Linked DNA regions of Homo sapiens: all the other regions are linked to region 2. The links are contacts of gene promoters, found by promoter capture Hi-C in human tissues and cell types (Jung and others, 2019). All regions are on one chromosome and are shown on one strand. Each heading gives the region's core, a stretch centred on a gene start or on the middle of the fragment in contact. The rest is flanking DNA. Distances are from core to core; before and after follow the strand shown. Region 1 overlaps RIT2 (Ras like without CAAX 2). Region 2 holds the start of RIT2 (Ras like without CAAX 2). Region 3 has its middle 29 kb from the start of SYT4.

Region 1 (3,137 bases), core at 106-2,605, 140 kb before region 2:
ATTTCAATCATCTGCCTATAGACCCAATCCTGAAGTGAACTCATTTATCTTCTCAAGCATGAGGCCAAATGTATACAAAGCTTTATCAGGCAGAAATGGTAGCAGCTGCCTGCTGTATCATTTGCGCAGAAAAGCACACTAGGACTGCATTCTTGGAGGCATCCACTACCTTAAAATTTATCTCAAAGTACTAATGTTTAATTTGAGATCATTGCTTCTCAGGATATATCTTCTCCACTGTCCCTCTTCAGCAGAATTGCATAAGAAGAAATCACTAAAGACCTATATTAAAGCCTCAAATCTATCACTAAATATCTGTTATTGGTTGGCCATGAAACCTTATTTGTAAGATGGCGATAATAGTAACACTAGTCAACGCATGGGAGTTCTATAAGGATCAACAAAAGTAGCACATAAGACAGTGCTTTTGAAAAAAGAAAGCAAAATTCAAACTCAAGGAATATTATGTTATGAGTTTTATTTAGTACTGCTTCAAATTAGCCATGAAACTAAATTAAAACTAAATTATTTCTGCTATTTATATTTACCCATGTGGAAATGTTTTTCCCAAGTAAATCATAAACTTTTTGGCAAGATATGTTTGCAATAATAACTAGAAATATAAAGTTTTTGATTAATTAAAAAGTGTAAGGTATTCTGGATAATTTTCCCAAAGCAGCTAATGTATTTTTTTCAGAATAAACATATTCATTTACATAATTTTAAAATATTTTAGTTGCAAATATAAAATTAGGATAATATAAGACCACCAAAATATATAACTAAGAAAAAAATATCAGAAATTTAATGGTAAATTTTCATTAAATGATTTTCAAATATCTTAAGATGATTGAATACTTCTTACATGGTTTACCTCATAATCTGAAATATATAATTCATATTACAATGAAGCTATTTTTCTATAACTCCAAGCTATTATACACCTCCAAGATATTAATCACTGACCCAAATTTTTTAAAGGCAATAAATAGTACAAAGTCTCATAGAATCAATTTATAAGATCTTTCTCAAAGGATTACTTGAATAAATCATCTCAATTGTAGGTACATATGTGTGTCTGTGTGTACAGAGCAGAAGTATCTTGCAACGTACTGTGCTGCACACTTTTTCTTGACCAAAATGTTAAATCCTGGATGAATCAGCATTGATACAAATCTAATGTATGTATCAATATATTGATCAATAAAGGGTTCAATATGTATTTGAGTATGTAATAGGTGCTGCACACTCAGATGGCAATACAGTCTACACAACTGAAAAAGCCAGGTGGTTTCCACCCACATTGAATTTATAATCTTGTGGGAATACATAAAAAAGCAATTGCACTGTATTTTAATGAGTGCTACATTAGAAGTACTTTGAAGGGTGCTTATTTAGGGAGATGTCAGAGAACACTCAGAGGAACTGATGTTGAGCTAAGGTCAGTTCTTCAAGTGATGGATTGAAAACAGAGTTAGGAAGGAGGAAGACAAGGAGGGCTCTGCCACGAAAAGAGAAAAGAAGTTGCATGAGATCTGATGTAACCCTTCCTTTGGGCCTAAACATTCAGTGAAATGTCATAAAAGTCTACCTGTTTGTTGGCTGTGAAAAAGGCTTGTAAAACTGGCTGAACTGAGTTTGTGGGACGACTCAGGGCAAAGAAGAACAACCTTTCCTATCATAGAAGTAAAAGCTGAAGACAGGGTACCACAAGGACCTAAACCCTAGAAATTCACAGGAATTATAAGGCAGAGCATGGATTTTTTCTCATGCTGTAATATTGAGAATTCAGTACAGTTTACTTAGGTCTCTGAGAAATAGGAGCTTCCAGATGATATCTGACTTACACAGCAATTGAAATCTTTCCCCCAGAAATCAACTACCCCACTAGCATCTATTTATATAGATGGAATCTCCCTAGTATCAGAGGGATGCTGATTGGTGTCAACTACCCCACTACCACTAGGTAGGTAATAGGGTAGTTGATACCAATCAGTATCTCTCTGATACCCCCCGGAGATTCCCAGTGTTACTGCTCTGGAAAGTCTGCCCAAAGTGGCCAATCACACACTTTCTGTGGTGTTTGCAGGCAGATTCTCCAGTGACTAACATGCTTGTCAGAATGTCTGTGCCCCTGGACTCCTCTGCAGGAGGCCTTGCCAAGAACAGAAAACCCAATGAGGAAGGGCAAGCTGGGGTGTGTCCTGTGGAGACACAGAACCCTACCTGGAGATTTGCAGGTACAGAGGACCACTACTGGAAGATGTCATTTTAAACAATGACTTATCAGATCAAGGACAAGCAGATGGAGATGTATTTGATAAGGAATATACTGATCTTCTGATGAGGGGACATGTAGCCCTGGCAAGAGTATGCAGAAGGAACAGCCAAATGACTGCTCTTCCCCAAAGTCATTATCTACAGAAAATGCTTCAGTGTGTCTCTCATATGTTAGAAACATTTAATCTTTTCCTTTCAACCTGAGAGAGTAGAAGGATCCATTGGAAACCTAATTCCCTGGCTGTCTTCTGCCAAATAAATATGAGCAACAGGACTAGGTCACGGTCACTGATGCTGAATGTCTCCAGTTCTTTGTGTCTGCCTCACTTAATTATTGCTTGGGGATGAAGGGGAAGAGAAGAAAATAATCTTTCCTCCCCAGCACCTGGCATCTCTTGGTCTACCTTTTTAACACCTCAAAAATACCCTTGAAAAATGGCTTTATGATCCTAAGACCATGATCTCTGCAATACCTGTCTTCCAGAGGTTGTATATGACAGAATGAGCTTAAATACATATTATTTCTTCACAGAAATAAAAAGAACTTTTATGATCAAGGCAATTGTACAAGTCTCAGTGTCCTAATGACTCTTCATCCTCATCTGATGGACCCTCGGAGAGGATTCCAATGTACCTCTGATGCCCATTGAGAAACTATGAGAATATCTAGCGACAAAGGTCTGATTTATACTAAGACTGCTATTTCTGGGAAGATAAAATCGATGACATTTTTCCTATTGTTCCTGCTATGTAAAATTTAAAACCAGGAGCCAATCATCATCCCAAAAGACACAATCCAAAATGCCATAATCTCGAATGTTGAAATCCTGGAAGATCAAAATTCCAGAAATAGAATT
Region 2 (2,827 bases), core at 75-2,574:
GTTCAGTTTTCCTATCCCTTGTGGACCCATCCACCAAAGTTGTTAGTTTTTTGGTTTCTTCTGCCGAAAATATTGTCTTCGTCTTTTAATTTTTTTGTCAACACTAAAACTACTGATTTGTTTTGATGCTTTTTGTCCATGCTAACTATAATATTTTTTCTACCTTTTAGAATTCCCAAAGATATATTCCCAGTGGAGATATTTAATATTTATATAAAAAGCTATATTTATTTATTTTCTAGTGATAGCCATAGCTCCGAGCTATCTAACATTTGATCAGCCAAAAAACTACTATGTATCTATTTTTTTAATTTTTTTATATTTGGCCTTTTAGGCTCCTCAAGAATCCCAACAACTGACACTTCCGTTCTTTATGTACCAAAAGAAATTTGCTATTCTTCATCTCTATTATCACCTCATCTTCATTTATTTGTGTAGCTTTCTCCTTTAATTGACCACAAAGTTTAGTTTGATCACCCTGCACAGGACTCACAATGAATATCATTCCATAAATCACTGCCACTTTCAAAAACCAACTTTCTTTTGGTATTCAAAGCCCACACACACCATGTCAGACTACAGATGAGGAAAAAGAACCTCCTAATGAAAGAAACAAACACAACAATCAACACCCATCATCCCGAGTATATGTCTGTGTTTGTAACTGTGTTTAATTGAATATTCATAGCACTTCTTTCTTTATGTGAAGATTTTTGAGACTAGGAGCACATTTTTCTCATACCATGACAATTTCATACTTATTTTTATTATTAAAAAAGACCTATACACTAAGAGCAAATATCACCCAGCATGAAATCAAAGAAAACAATCATCCTCTTAAGGTTCTGAGGATCATCACTGGCTGTCTGCATTATCCTGACTCATCAGCATCGGTTTAACAGTCCTGACACTTTGGAGCATCCTGCCAGACCCATACTCTGTGTTTAACTGCCACAGTTCACCTCTAACAGCATCAGCAATATCATTTTTCTTTCACTCTATAGAGTTGTCTCTATAGAGGTCCCTCCTTCCCCAGCATTTGGTGTGAAAACTTACCGCTTTTACCAACTCCCCCTGCTCCCAGCATTACCACCTTGTACTCTCTGGACCCGCCTGATGCGCTGCCCGGGGAGCAGCTGGCTTCATTTTCTACCTCCATCTTACCCGAGGGACCGGAGGAAAAAAAGAAGGAGAAAGTCACCCGTGTCAGGTGCTTGCTCGAATATTAAGCAACTCTAAAACTGTGTCAAAGCAAAGGTTTTAGTACGAGGTAAGAACCATCAGCGTCGGGCTGGCTGCTGGTCCTCCGCTCGAGCGGGTCTCATAGCAACCACTTCAATTGCTTCCAATAAAAATCTGGCTTTTGCATCCCCCACCCTTCCTTCCGATCCTTCACTCTTTCACGTCTCCTACAATCTCTCTCTCTCTCTCTCTCTCATTTTCATTTCCTCCCTCATTTGATTCTTTCTCCATTTCCCTTCCCCACTGTCTGTTTCTCTCCTTTCTCTTTCCTGCCTACCCCCTGCACAGTCACAGTTGTCAGTGGCACACACACATTCGACCCCTTTTCAGGCTGCGCTGCTAGAATGGAGTGAATCTGAGACCTCACAGGAGTTGCTATGTCTCACAGGATGACTTCTGTAGGTACAGCTTCAAAGATGCTATTTTCTTTTAATCAAAGTCAATTAATAAGGATTTCTTCTGCTTATAGTCTTGCATTTTATCACTCTTCTATTGCAGTTTTCATTCCGGGAAAATGGAAAAGCAAAACAAAAACAAAACAGAACAGTAACTCAGGGCTCATAAGGATGGATCTTCAGTGTTATTGAAATAACAGCCGGCTAACAGGAATTGTTCAGCTCACTAGACAGTTGCAGGTTTAACATAGGGGGGTAATTGAATTAGATCATTGTCATATTTGGACAAGGCTCATGCTTGTTTACGTTAAGTTATTAGAAACAACTTAAATCACAAGGACTATCAAGCATGAAAGAGATAATTGATAAATATTTTTACTGACAATTATACTAGCATAAAAGATTGTAGAAGAATATTTTTAAATGTCCAAACTATTATTACCTGTTTGAATTCTTATAAAGCTTTGCGGTCTTTGTTTTTCTCTAAAGAACTTCTAAACTACAGAGGGTCAAGAATGTTTTCAATAATTCCTAATTGTCATAATAAGATCCTGTCTTTTAATCAACATGATGATGTTTAACATGTTTATTGTCTATTTTCTAAAGCTTGAATCATTATCAGATGCAGACAAGTGTTTGGTGTGCATAGACTAGACTTGTCTTTCTATCTAGATTTTAAGCTCCACTAGGAAAAGAACTATATTTAGTCCATTTCTTGTGATTCTATAATATGTGCACTGAGTAGGCACTCAATATATACTTGCTGGTTTCTGTAGAGGCTTCAAATTGTTATAGCCAAGAGCACAGTCTCTGAAGCCAGAATGCCTGTGTTCAAATCTGGGCTTAGCCACTTACCAGCTATATGACCTTAGGCAAATTCCTTCACCTCTCTGTGCCTCAATTTCTTTATCACTGAATAGTTAATTAAAACCCTACTTTGTTAACTCATTAAGTGAGCTAATATTTATATAGTGCTTAAAACTGTGTCTGACAAGTGATAAGTACCACACAGGTATATGATATGAAGAGTATGTTATTATTTTGAATCTGTGCTGCTGTCAGTCTACTGTTTACAAACACTCGCCCAAGAAGAGAAGATTATCTTTTCATGTGTTTATTGGCCATCTGTATATCTTCTTTGCCAAAGTATCTGTTCAAGTCTTTTGCTTATTTTTATACCAAGGTGTTTA
Region 3 (3,042 bases), core at 37-2,536, 130 kb after region 2:
AGCTGTTGGTAGCAGTAAGCAAGTAAATACAGGATGGACTAGACATGGATTTATGGCTGTGAGACAGTGTACTCAAGGATTTCCAAGGAGAATTAATAAAGCAAGAATGTGTGTGCAGATAACATAACTGCTGCATGAGGTAAAAATTAGGTGAAAGCTTAAAAGTTTCTATTCAGAATAGAATAAAGGAAAATGGCAGATCCCACGTTGGTACTTAAGAAGGGCCAAAACACTATGATACAGAGTGTGAATAGATAGAAATGCTGAGGTTGAGTCAAAAGAAACAAAATGTAATGAAGACATGAGACAAAATTCATTGTCTATGAATTTTAAAAGACTTTTGCTTCCCACATATGATGAGGAAAAAATATTAAACACAGGAAAAGAAAATCAGATAGGAAGACTTGTTTAAATACTACTGAACCCAGGTTGTTTTTTATGGATAGGCCCATATAAAAGCATAGCAATGGCAGGAAAAGATGACCCCAACCATATTTTATCTATTCTTAACCTTGATGTTAAACACCTTTGCAGTGTGAGAAAAAAGTGACAGGAGAGTTTATGACTATGCCGTGTTCTCCAAAGAAACCCAGCCTTGCAGAGCCAGGCCTGTGAGTGCAGTATAGTAGAGGGAAGATTCAAATCCTGAACATCTGTGTTTTACCAAGCACTTTACATATACTGTTTCATGAAAGCCTGCAAGGTAGTTATGCATTGCACAAGATGAGGAAACCAAGTTGCAGAATAACTTGCTCAATGTCACCTAACCAATAATGGAGAATGATGAAGTTAAAATCATGATGTGTCTGTTGGCAAAGTTTGTACATTTTCTAGCCATGCTAAGCTGCCTCTTGGTTGGTAAGATTCCTAGTTAAATGAATAGAGGTCATTTTCTGAAGTTAATGAGAACTTGGAGTAAAGAAAAAGAATAAAATATTATGACAGAAAGGATGCTTACATAAAATAAGGGAGCTGTCTACACAGCAAGATTAACTCATCAAAGTATAATAATAACGAACAAGAAAAAGGTTTGAGAGAGCTGTGAGGCTGCTAATGATGAAAAGTGTGACTGCAGTTATTAATAAAATAAAAAATTTACTCTGAAATTCCTAGATATAACATCTTCTCAACAAATATAACCAGAAAAACATGCCCAAACACTTGAAGAACTGTAACATCAATTTCTTCCCTTATCACAATTAAATGTTTACTAGTTCATTCTTTTCCATATTCTTTAGTATTCTCAGAGAATTATGCATACTTTTTTACTCTCTGGAATACATTTCAGTGAAACATGTAAAATTTGAATAGCCTGTTATCTGATCTGGAAATAAATGTGCTTGCTAAATACTTCCTGAGCTTTGTTGCCAGTTGGACTTTCAACTCATGATTCCAACATTTCCAGGTTTTCCTTTCTACACTATCTTGTACAAATGAATTGTGCTGAATTTGTGGTTTATAAATGGTATTTGATTTCTTCACTCATGTTTCACCCTTTACAAAAATTCATAGCATCCTAAAGTTAGTTTGAAGGGAACACATTTAGTAGAGTTAAAGGAAGGCAACTCTGCAAAAGGGAACACAGGTAGAAAACTTGAAAAGACTAAAGGTGTGAGTATAATGGTTCCAAAAAGGAGACCTTAGATGAACAGAGTTGCTAAACACAATGTTAGAATTTAATGCTGGGAGAAGAGCAGAGTGAAAAAAATCACAGAACTGGTCATCACCTCTAATGTACTAGGCTTCCAACCAATTATATGACATTGAGAAAGTCTTCCTACCTCTTAAATGGCTGTTTTAAGGCTTAGGGAATAATATTCGCAAACAAGCAAGTCACAGATTTTAGTAGCTTCAACAACAGTGGATTAGCTGGGAGCTCATCTTCGTATCATGGGAGTGAGGGTGACAGAGCAACAATTCTATCTGAAACATTTCCAAACACCAACATAATACAGGAAAAAAAGAATCTGGAAACACATTCTTGGCTCTCAAAACTTCCACATAAAATGACAACATTACTTTTCTATACTCAAACAAATCATCTGCCTCATCCACCTTCCTTCAGGTGAGGTGAAGTGTGATCTTTTATGTTGCTAGAGTAGAAAAAGCTTGGGATTTTGGATAGTCCTGCTAATATAAAGTTTATTTTGTAACATCCTGTGAAACATACTGCTGGGAATGTACACATAAGAGTGAAGAGGCGATGCTGTGCATGAGTACTTTCTTGTTCAAAAAGAGTCCCTGCAACAGCTACTGTCACTGCCAGAAGTAGTGTTATCTCTTGGAGGCCTCCAAAATATATTGGTTTTAACTTAATCAATCCCTCCTGATGCTAGGAAGGTAGCACAGACCAGCCAATAAAATTGAATAATTCAGATTACAGAATTAACTCGTTAATGTCCATTTGTATCACTCCATGAAACAAAGCTCGGTCATAAAAAGACATAGGAAAAATATTTTTTTTTCATAAGAGAGAGGGAAAGTTTTCCAGCACGAGCAGCCAATGTCCGGGGATGCAATGCCTTTCCAAGTGACGGAAGGCAGTGAAAGGGTAACCCTAAAGCACTGAGTTTGACGAAAGAAGGATAAGGTGGAATGGTTTCTTGAATGAATTATCTTTTTCTTCTTTTTTAACAATATCTTAAGGCATAATTGATATGCAAAGAACTGCACATATTTAAGGTTACAATTTCATGAGTTTGAACACATGCAAACAATTGTGTGATACCATTACCACAATCAAGGTTATAGACATGTCCAACGTCTTCCAAAGTTTCCTTTTGTTCCTTTGTTTTTATTTCACTTTTTTATCTTGTTTAGTGATAAGAACACTTAACATGAAATCTACCTTCTTAACAAATTTTGAAGTGCACATTACCATACTGTTCACTAGAGGCACTATGTTGTACAGCAGATCTCTAGAACTTCTTCATCCAGCATAGCTGAAATTCTATTCATTGAACAACAACTCCACACTTCCTCCTCCCACCAGCCTCTGGCAACCACCATTGTACCTCTGTATCCATGAGTTTGACTATTATA

The links. Contacts are between HindIII fragments. The study calls those that stand out against the background at their distance.
Region 1: a fragment that was not itself captured here is called in contact with the fragment with the promoter of RIT2 in region 2 in 2 of the 25 tissues and cell types used here (hippocampus and mesenchymal stem cells).
Region 3: a fragment that was not itself captured here is called in contact with the fragment with the promoter of RIT2 in region 2 in 2 of the 25 tissues and cell types used here (bladder and hippocampus).

What each region holds. Positions count from the first base shown.
Region 1 is chr18:42,978,521-42,981,657 of GRCh38, forward strand. The region is part of intron 2 of RIT2 (Ras like without CAAX 2); the gene reads right to left. Among named protein-coding and RNA genes, the nearest start is that of RIT2, 140 kb to the right of the region's middle. The HindIII fragment of the contact is 7,856 bases long and covers 1-3,137 here.
Region 2 is chr18:43,114,361-43,117,187 of GRCh38, forward strand. It overlaps RIT2 (Ras like without CAAX 2), which reads right to left and starts at 1,325. Exons shown (of 5, transcript NM_002930.4): 1 at 1,057-1,325. The coding sequence starts at 1,159. The HindIII fragment of the contact is 9,119 bases long and covers 1-2,827 here.
Region 3 is chr18:43,247,412-43,250,453 of GRCh38, forward strand. No RefSeq gene overlaps it. Among named protein-coding and RNA genes, the nearest start is that of SYT4, 29 kb to the right of the region's middle. The HindIII fragment of the contact is 4,458 bases long and covers 1-3,042 here.